2 separate regions of the Homo sapiens genome follow, and region 2 is linked to region 1. The links are contacts of gene promoters, found by promoter capture Hi-C in blood cells and fetal thymus (Javierre and others, 2016). All regions are on one chromosome and are shown on one strand. The core of a region is centred on a gene start or on the middle of the fragment in contact, and the rest is flanking DNA. Distances in the headings are between cores, read along the strand shown. Region 1 holds the start of LAMB3 (laminin subunit beta 3). Region 2 has its middle 20 kb from the start of LINC01698.

The links. The method cuts DNA at HindIII sites, captures the fragments that hold promoters and counts their contacts. A CHiCAGO score of 5 or more calls a contact.
Region 2: a contact is called between a fragment that was not itself captured here and the fragment with the promoter of LAMB3 in region 1, in 1 of 17 cell types (monocytes). The highest score is 6.6, in monocytes.

What each region holds. Positions count from the first base shown.
Region 1 is chr1:209,651,175-209,656,585 of GRCh38, reverse strand. LAMB3 (laminin subunit beta 3) reads left to right here and starts at 4,161. Exons shown (of 23, transcript NM_000228.3): 1 at 4,161-4,217. RefSeq lists an enhancer at 3,460-4,659. The HindIII fragment of the contact is 2,819 bases long and covers 3,534-5,411 here.
Region 2 is chr1:209,389,232-209,394,642 of GRCh38, reverse strand. No RefSeq gene overlaps it. Among named protein-coding and RNA genes, the nearest start is that of LINC01698, 20 kb to the right of the region's middle. The HindIII fragment of the contact is 3,065 bases long and covers 840-3,904 here.

The sequences.
Region 1 (5,411 bases), core at 2,912-5,411:
CCCATCTTTGGCCCTGTGTAATGGTTAAGAATATGCGTGCTGGAGCAAAATGGCATGGGCTCAAATCCCCAGTTACTAGCCAAGGCCAAGTTATCGAAAATGTGCCTCATTTTCCTTGTCTGCAAGATAAAGATAATTGTCTATCCCCACAGAGTTGTGGTGGGTATTAAGTGAGTGGATACATGCAAAGGGCTCAGAACAGTGCCTGGGCACAGCAAGCACTCAGCAGATATCAGCTGTAGTGATTTTAGGCCGATTGCCTGATTGCTCCCAGTCCTCGGGCTCAAGCTGCATGCACAGTTGTCCACTGGGTAAACATTCAGGTTGGATAGGTGAGGGTGGGGAGAGGAGAAGGGCTATGGAAGAGTCACTCATGACAGGCGACTTCTGTCCTGCTTAGCCTCCCCTCTCCTGAGGCTGGGCTCCTATCTGTGCCTCCGTAACACACCAGGCCCACTTTCTCTCCCTGGTTCCTGGGGAGGCACAGAGAAGAGTGTGACCAGTTGTCTGGACAGCTGAGCAGTTGTGTTGTAGTGCAGGGCAACGCAAGCTTTAGTCACATGGCAAATCCCCAGGGCCGTTCCTGGAGTCCACCCTGTCCCACAGACGAGGACTCAGCCATGATTCACTGTATTCAGGTGTGGCCTGAGCTTGAGTCACCTGGTGCCCCTTCCTCCAACACCTGAGAGTCACAGCCTGGACCAGGTTCTCCTATGCCCCCTGAACCTCTTCTCTCTCCTTTTCTTCCTCCTTTTCTCCTTCCTTTGTTCCCTATCCCTTGATCTCTGATTGATCAGATCTTGGCTGATCTCCCTAGCGACTTGGACGGTTTGAGCCTGACAGATGGATAATAGACACAGTAGCTTATAATGCCACCCCCACACCCTGTCAGAGACATTGCCAGGAATGACTGAGAAGCAGGCAAAGAAGGAGACTGCCTCTGTCAATATGGTGACATTTCTGTAATTGGAGATAGGTGCCTCAAAAAAGACCTCCGCACTCTGGCTGATACAGGAATTTCCACTATTAGTAATCCATCCCAGTGCCCAAAGCCTGGATTGTCCCCTCTGAGAATGCAACTACACATCAACGGCACAGGGGATGCATTGAACTGTATCAATTGTTTGTACTTTAGTGTGGATCCATTCATTCCACAAGTATTGAGCACCTACTATGTGCCAGGCACTTGGAAAACAGTAGTGAATAAGATAGAAATCTCTGCCTTCTTGGATATTACATTCTAGTTGGGAAGAGACAGAAAATAAACATAAGCAGATAAATTATATAGTTGGTTAGAAGCTGGTACATGATGCCCCCCTACCAAATAAGTAAATAAATAACTCACCAAAATATAGGGTAGGTGGGGTTAGGAGTGTTAGGATGGGGGACAGGGATGGGGCAGGGAAGTTGGCTGTAATTTTAATAGTGTGTTTAGGATAGGCCTCATTGAGAAGTTAGGATCTGAACAAAGACTTTGAAAGAGGTCAGAGAGTTAGCTTTGTAGATATCCAGGGGCAAGACCGTTCCAGGCAGCAGAAGCAGCTGGAGCCAAAGCCCTAAGCCTGAGCTAAGACAGGGATAGAGGCCATTGTAGTAGAGGTGAAGAGTAATGGGAGGAAGGTGGTGTAGGGTCCCCTAGACTCTGAAAAAGCTCTGGCCTTGGCCCTGAGTGGGATAGGGGCATGTGAAGATTCTGAGCTCGGGGTGCATAACCTGCTGTGTTGGGACTTGACTGTATATCAGTGAGGAGGCTGTTGCAGACGTCCCAGGAAAAGAGGCTCAGGCCAGGAGGGAAGAAGTAGATTCTGATTATTATTGGAAGGCAGAGCTGACCGAATTTGCTGATGGAGTGATGAGGTTTGAAAGATACTGAAGTCTGGGATGACTTCACTAGCCACTTTCCTGAGCACACATTCTAATAAGTCAAGGCTCTAGGGCAGATAAGTGCTCTGTTGTAGGAGGATGGGCGCAGGGAGAGAGGAAAGGTGTGCACACAGGGGAGGCTGAGGGGCTCCAGCCACAGTACCACACCCCTTTAATCTTAGCTGGACCCTGATCTGGCCTCAGGCTCTATTTTAGGCTACTTGACTGAACAAATTGGGTTCTGAAGCTCCAGAGCTTGTGCCTGGAGCCCTGGAGTTCTTGGGGGACTGGATCCCCACTTGGAAATGATCAGTGTCCCTCAGGAGTGAGGCTGGCTGGGCTGCTCTTGGGGGTCTGCATAAACAGCTTCCTGGACTTTGCCGGGAGTGTAGGGGAGAGCCAAGCACAGCAATTGGCATGTCCCTCCTGCGAAGCCAAACCACTCCAGGACCTGCCCAAGCCTGTGAAGTCTGAGACACCGAATGTGTATTTACCTGGGCTCATGGCCTCAGATAAAGGGAGGAGGAGGAGGATTTAAGGGGCCCCAGCTACTCATGGTGAGGCCCACCGCACACCTGCCCTGCCTTTTCTCCTCTGAGGATCTGGGATTGCAACACCTGCTCTCTTCTGCTGAGTTAATTATTAATGAGTTCTTTGTCACATCCTCTGGTGATGGGCAGAGGGCGAAAGTTTCATGAGCGCTCTGAGTTCAGGGAGTTGGGGAAGTGGAGAGAAAGAGACCACCAGGTGGGAGAACTGAAAACACAGGTGTGTCAGAGTCAGAGCTGACCTTTCTCGGTGGGGGACTTGAGGGAGGTCTCTCTGTGTTGAAGGGACACTGCTTCTACTGACCTTACTTGCTGAGTTGAGCTAGATTTCACTGGAATGCTTACAGGGGGCAAGACTCTAACATTTATTGGACTATCAATTATGCATCAACTTACATCAACAACTCACTGCCCACTTGCTAATTACACTATTTCTTCTGCCTACCTGAACTTATGCTTAATTCGAATCTGAGGGTTAGAAATGCCCAATTTAATCCACAAAATTCTACATTTCCCCCTTAAGGGTCTTCAAGCCAATTTCTTGGACATAACCCTCCAATGGTGGAGAACTTTCTGTTTAGGAGACACTAACAAAGTGGAATCGTAGTTAAGAAGCTCCTTTAAATAGTAGCTTTGAGGTCCTAGCATTCCAAAACGGTGCCAGTGCAGGCTCTCCAGGGCCAAGATATGGACTGGCTGACCCTCCAGGTTTCCCTAAAAGCTCTCTGACCCTAACCTGGGGGAAAGAGTGTCCTGTGAGACCAGCCTCTCAATTTGGACCTGCCACTTCCATTTACAGTGGCTGGAAGCCCAGGATCCCTGAGCAAGGAGCCCACAAAAGAAGCTGTGTTCTCAGGCCTGGCAGGAGGCCAGGGAAAGTCTGTTTTGACTTTGTCAGTCAAGCTATGCTTCAGCCTTTCCTTCCACCACTTGTGGTCAGGTCTGTTTTCTGGCCCTCCAGGCGGGCATTCCTGCCTAGGGAGGGAGGGGCTAGGAGACTAACCCTCCCCACAGGTGGGAGGAGTGACTCACAGGCAGCTACCTGTCCCAGGGCTCCCTGCCAACCCTGTGGAGGGAGCTGGAGGCGAGCCATTTAGTTACTCTGCTCATTTCTCTTAAGCTTTCCTTGGATGAGTTGAGCTTTGAATCCTTCCTGATGAACCTTGCCTTTTAAGGATCCTCCAAATGCCCCAAGAAGCTGGGATTTTTCATTTTTTTTTTCACTGGGGAGGGGAATGGTGCTTTCCAGGGTCCTGGATGTTTGAGTCTTCTCACCTTCCAGCCCGGTGATATGTCTGGAGCTTTAACTCTCTATATAAGCCCTAATCTTTGTGTTCTCTGCCTGATCTTCTGTCTGGGGTGGTCCAGGTCACAAGAAGAAGCTGACCCCTGCTGGCTTTGGGAAAATGCTGAGTTCATTGCCTGGCACAAATGCAAGGGCCCTTCCCCACCCTGTGAATTCTGGTCTCTGATGATCACTTACATGTGCCTTGTGCTTTCTGTTTGAGGGGCCCCTTGCAGCCCCCACAGGCAGGTGGGCATTGTGGAGCTCACTACAAGAACTCTGGGACGGACCGACCAACCCACTTGCCCAGTCCCGTCCTGGGAGGTGGGGGTGCAGTGACGACAGATGGGTGTGACGGCTGCCAGATTCCTGAGACCCGCCCTGCGGTGGGGCTACACCCAGCCAGGGAGTCTCCAGAGGTGAGGCTGTTGTTTAAAAACCTGGAGCCGGGAGGGGAGACCCCCACATTCAAGAGGAGCTTTCAGGCGATCTGGAGAAAGAACGGCAGAACACACAGCAAGGTATGTTACCTGTCTTTACCTGCCTGGTGCGGGCCGGATGCGGGAGGAGGACTGTATCTCTGGATGCCTGGGGCCTGGTTTCAGGGCCTGATTTATTCCTCTTCCTGGGAGCTCACTCAGGTGAGCTAGGTTAAAATGTCTGCTACAGTTTTGATTTCTTTTTCACATTTGATAAGCACCTCAGTGGCTTAGAAGAAAGCAGGTTCAGATCCGGGGTTGAGCACAAAAGAGAAGTGAGAAGGGTGGGCTGGCCTGGCTCAGAATGCCTACTTGCAGGGGGATTTTCAGTCAGGGGTGGGAAAGCTGAGAAAGCACTGGATGAAAGTCAGAAGATGGGTCTCTCTTAGGCCATCGTTAGCTGTGGGACCCCAGGCCACATGTTCCCTCCCTGGGCCCATGACTCTTTTAGGAGAGGGATTGGAAGGAATGATTTTGAAGCATTAGGATCTATAATTTAAAGATGCCAGAAATGTCCTCAATTTCCCCCCCCGCCCCTGCCTTGCCAAGCCCCCAGCCCTCCACCCCAGCCAAAAGAGTTTGTGGCTGTCATTGGAACAGAGTGAACATCCAATTCAAGGCAGAAGGGTCACTGCATGAGCAAGGGTGGGGCATGTTTCCACAAGGCAGGCCTGCCTCTGGGACCCCACGGTGGCTTTCGAGCATCCTTCCCCAGCCTCCTTCAGAATCCCTGCTTTGTGGCCTCCCAGCCCCACCCCTCTTGTCGAGCCCCAGCCCATCATTGAAGACATTTTGGGTTGCTTCCCTTTCAGAAGAAACCCTCACTCACTTGTTAAAGACAGCCATACATCTCTCCCTGTTGCATCCCAGAATTGTGGGCACAGAGCCTCAAACTCAAAGTGGCCCTGAATGGTATTGGAGGCCATGCCCGTGACAGGAGAAGGTTTGCCTCCAGGCCGTCAGCCACTCTGACTCATTCACTTTGGGCGGGGCTGGGTTGAGGCTGCTGGTCTAGGCCCTGAGAAAAGCCAGCCCTCTCTCTTGGGGCTGGAACTAGGTCTTGGCCCTTTCTACAGCTTTTCTCCTGCAAAGGGTCCAGCCTTTTCCTGCTCCCCACGTTGTCCTTACGGCTGTGTGGGGTAGGGCAGGGTCCACACTCCTTCCCATCCATTTTAGAGGAGGAAGCTGGAGTCTGGGAAGGGATGGGATTTTCCCAGGGCACCCTGTGAGTCACAT
Region 2 (5,411 bases), core at 1,123-3,622, 260 kb after region 1:
TGCAGAAGTTCTTTCTAGTTCCTAGATTCTCTGATTCTGAGAATCTAATGCTTTAGGTATGATACAATGTATTGCAATGGAAGGATTACCGAGTTTCATGCTAGAATTCCTGAATTTAAATGCAGATTTGGGCAATTATGACTTAAATGATCTTCAGTAAAGTTTTACAAATAGTTTCAGGTTTTGTTCAATAGCTTTACTGAGGGATAATTTACATATCAAAAAATTCAGTCATTGTAAGGGTATAGTTCAATGATTTTTGGTAAATTTATAGTTGTGCAACTATCACCATAATCCAGTGTTATAACATTTTTCATAAAACTTTTGACCTATTTTTTCATCTTAAAATTAAACTTATGAGTGAATTGATTGCAAAAATGGCTGTAATTCTTAAACCTATTGTGGTATGAGTTGTTGCTCCTTGCATTGAGAGGTGGATTTGATTTCCCCAGCCCTTGAATCTGGGACTGGCCTTGTGACTTTCTTTAGCCAAAAAAGTGTGGTCCAAGTGACAGTGTGCCAGTTCTAAGCCTTGCATCAAAATGTCTTGCATGTTTCCATTTGCTCTTTCAAACCCTGCTCTCTTCACCATGAGTGTAAATATAGTCTGCTGGAAAATTAAAAAAAAAATCATGTGAGGAGAAGCCCCAATCATTCCAGCTGCTCTATGTTAGGCCATCTTAGATCAACTTCCCCCATCTGCCCTCCGGCTGACCGCAGATGCATGAACACCCCTCATGAAGATTGGCTGAGCCCAATGCAGATCAGCAGAATTGGCCAGCCAACATGTAGACCCACAAAAAAAAAAATAGAAGGTTATTGTTTTAATCTACTAAGCTTTTGGGTGGTTTATAAAATGTCATTATTGAGGCAATAAATAACTGATACAGGATGGCCATAGGGATCAACTTTTTTTAAAGCCATGAAAACATCTACCATTCTGCCTACGTTGCATAGTATGCCCTCACTACATTTAAAAAACATTAAATTTAATAAACATGTATAGAGGCCTTCATATATGAAAAGAACTTTGGAGTTGTGAGGGATGTGGAATTGAAACAGAAATGATATAAACCCTTGAGGAGTCAATTCCAGTGGGAAAAAAATAGATACTTACACAGAGAGCTATAATATAGGACAATCTGTCCATCTATTACAATATTTATGTTGAAGTGGTCCCTCCATTGTCTGCAAATAACCATGTTCTTCTTTTCTTGGTATTTCAGTTTGTTCCAAAATGTGTTCAAGGAATATGGTTTATTGAAAAACTCCCCAAACAGCACATTGACAGAAATTAAGTTTCATTGGTATGTCCAAGTACAGTGTTTGCATTTGTAGGAAATATTCTTTATGGCAGCTTGGCCATGTGAAATATGTTATGAGCCAGGGAAACAGAAAAGCAGACATGAATTTAGAGCCAGGGTTGGGAGGAGAATAAAAAGAGGAGAAAGAGAGGTGGGTGGGAAAGTCTTAATTTCTAAAATAAGCAGAAATTGTAATTTCAAGAATGCCTAAAGAATAGAACACTGCCTTAGCAGCTTGTTTGTGCTCAGCTCCAAAATATTCTAGAGGTTTAGGTGGCTGGGATTGGGCTGTGGAAGAGGAAGAAAGAGTGGGGGTTTTGGCAAACAGGACCTCAGGCAGCAGAAGTCTTGTGATTGGTTGATCTCAAGCATGTTCTCTGAATTCCTTCATCCTCTCCAGTAAGCAGCCCATCTGGGGAGTCTGAGAGCACAATACAGAGCCCTGGTTTGGAAGCCAGGGGCCCTATTTCTAGTCCTAGCTCTGACACTGAAGAACTATTGCTGTGTGACCATGGACAGGTCACTTTTCCTTTCTGAAGGCTGATCTAGGTGATTTCTAAGGGCTCTTCTGATTCAAATAGTCTGTAAGTTCAGGTCCGATTCACCCACCAAGTTAGAGGAGGCAATTAAAATCAGAGTGAACCAAAGTAGATAACAAGGCCTCTGACAACACAGGTGGACCTGTAAAAAATGGAGCTGTTCAGAAAACCAAGACACAGGTTAATGGGTAAGCCCCGCAGATGCGGACCCACCCTCCACTTCTCCACTGAATGTATGGAGTCTAACCATGCCTGTCCCAAGGACTCCAGAGGTCCTGGATGCTCCCTACCTGTGACCTGCCCACTGAGCCTATCGAGTGCATCCTCCCTCTCCTCCTAGAATGAGGATGTCAAAGGCTTTTCTTAAAATGAACTTGAGTTCTAATGAGTGGCTGTTTAAACAAGTCAAATATTCTTAGAGGTATGGTGGGAAGGGTAGGGGTGAGAAGGTGGGTCTTTTTTCCAAGTAGTGGAAATAACAGAAAGACAAAGAGTAAATAAAGAGAGCTCTCTGCAACAAGGAACTCCCTGAAGCTAAATGTAAACCAGCACTCCCAGGCTGACTAGGGTCTCTTTTAAGATGACAACTTAAAAGAACTTTTTAAGATGACAACTTAAAAACTTGATCTCAGGGCAGTTTTTGGGATACCTTTTGGGGAGACACAATCTTTGTCATCACCTAAAAAAACCCCTGGGAGGTGGTGAGGGAACAAGCAAGAAGTGGCAGAAGCCCCTGCCAGGGTCTGAGTCACCAGGAGTTGAGCCCCCATCCCCTGCTGGGAGGAATGAATTCCTGACTGCAAGTCTTCAAATCCTGTCCACCAGCATTTCTCCAAGGAGCCTATGCGAAATAGACAGATGTCCCACTATGAAGTTGTTTGGCTTCCAACCACGGGAAGGGCCTCTGAAGAGGAGGAGGCTCCTGTCTGCTGTTGATTAGGGTAGCAGTCAAGAGAGGCTGTGTGCATCCCCAGTGACCACTGCAAGGCTGTGATGCCAGAGGCCAGGCCCAGGGATCCTTCGTGAAATGTGTTTACATGAGGTTCCATTTTCACCTCAAAAAAGCAAATAGTACAGACTCTCCTCAACTTATGACGGGGTATGTTGAAAATATTATAGTTTGAAAATGCATTTAATACACCTCACCTGCTGAGCATCATCTCTTAGCCTAACGTATCTTAAACATACTTGAACAATGTTCGTGCAACAAACAAGGACATAGCCCGCAGTTGGGCAAAATCATCTAACGCAAAGCCCATTTTATAACGAAGTGTTGAATATCTCATGTAATTTATTGAATACTGAACTGAAAGTGAAAAACAGAATGGTAGGCGGATATTTGAAGTATGGTTTCTACTGAACACATGTTGCTTACGTGTCATTATAAAGTCAAAAAATTGTAAGTCAAACCATTATAAGTTGTGGACCGTCTGTACAAATAGCACTGTTCAGATCATTGTTTGTCTTCCATAGTGGCATGGCCTGGTCTGTGCATTCCTCTTTCTCCTTTTTCTGACACAGGTCACCCTCCAACACCCCCAATCCTCATCATTGGATCAAGGAAGCCCTGCAAGTCACTACAGTTTGCATCTACTTAGGAGCATAAAACATAAAAATAACTTTTTTTTTTTTGGCTCACAGATTTCATGGGCCAGGAATTTGAACAGGGCATGGCAGGGGCTGCTTACCTCTGCTCCACAACATCTGAGCCTCAACTAGGAAGACTCAAAGGCTGTGGGGAATTCAAGGCTGTGGGAGAGTGGGATCATGAAATGTTGATTAATTCACAAGTCAGTCAGGTGATGCTGGCTCTGGGGTAGGACTCAGCTGTGACCTTCAGCACTCTTACACATGGCTGCTCCAGACACCTGAGATTCCTTTCATTGTAGTTGTGGTTTCAGGGCAGTTGAATTTCTTACACCGTGGCTTGGGGTTCAGAACTCCAAGTGCAAATGTTCCAGAGAACAAGATGGAGGCTGCAAGGTCTTTTACCATTTGGCTTTGGAAGTCATGGAGCATTACTTCTGCCACATTCTTTTGATTACAAGTAAGTTAGAAGCTTGCTCAGATACAAGGGGAAATGCTATAGGCCTTCCCTCTCTCTCTGTCTCTTTCTCTTTTTTTTTTTTTTGAGACCAAGTCTCACTCTGTTGCCCAGGCTGGAGTGCAATGGTGTGATCTCAGCTCATTACAACCTCCACCTCCTGGGTTCAAGTGATTCTCCTGCCTCAGTGTCCTGAGTAGATGGGATTACAGGCATGCACCACCAAGCCTGGCTAATGTTTTGTATTTTTAATAGAGATGGGGTTTCACCACGTTGGCCAGGCTGGTCTCGAACCCCTGAATTCATGATCTACCCACCTCAGCCTCCCAAAGTGCTGGGATTACAGGCATGAGCCACTGTGCCCAGCTGGCCTTCCCTCTCTCTAAGGGGATTGTCATATAATTTGCAGACATGTGGTTTTTTTATTTAAGATTTTTTATTTTAATATAGTTTAGTTTTTAGGAAAGTTGTGGATTCACAGCTAAATTGAATGGAAAGTATAGAGATTTCCCCTCTACTCCCTGCCTTCACACATGCATGGCCTCCCCATTATCAACATCCCCCACAGAGGGGCCCATTTGTTACAACTGATAAACCTACACTGACACATCCTTATCACTCAACGTTCAGAGTTTACACTGGGGTTAATTCTTGGTATTGTACAGTCTATGGGTTTGGACAAAAGTATAATGACAGGTATCTACCATTATAGTATCATAAAAGTAGTTGACTGCCCTAAAAGCCCTCTGTGTTCTGCATATTTATATTTTAAAACCCTCACAGTAGCCCACATTGCCTAACCCAAACTAGGCCCCACCATCACTCTCTGTTCATTTCCCTGTAAGGAGCTCCCTCTCCTCCACCTCTCAGATCCTAGGAAATTTTGGAGACGAGCATGGGGAAGTTGCTAAAGTGCTTCTTGGTTCTTTGGCCAAGGTTGAGTTTAAAAGTAGCAGGTCTTCTGAGGGAAGTCCTCCTTTTCTTTGCTCTTCCCCCATCCTTGCCTCTCCACCCCACACTATGACTTGTGATTGCACCCATGCTCTGCTTTGCTTGACTCTTCGGTGGGTTCCCTGGAGTGGTTTCCTACCACCTTGTGTGTCCTTGCAGAATAAATTAAATGCTAAGGATCTGCACACAGGCTCAACACAGATCTCTTCCTTGGTAATACCTCCATGCCAAGCTCTTGACTCACCATTCTTAACTGAAATGGTTTCTCCTTCATGGTGTGACTTGGGGAGAAAGGCTGTCAAATATGTTCTAGAAACATCAGCCTGTCATGCCTAGGACGGCACCTGGCAGTAGGAACTTGCTTTCTTAATGATTGCTGAATAAATTAACCCTGGGTTAGATGTGCTCTGGATGACTCATGGGCTCTGATTCAACCTGATTCACCAGAGGATTTAGGGTCATTTGACCATGGAGAGCCCTGCATATCTCCAGAGGGAAATGAGCAGTGTGTGTGTGTTAAGGTGGTGGTGGGGAGTGTGGATGTGTGGTTTTGGGATAGGGGATGGGTGTGGA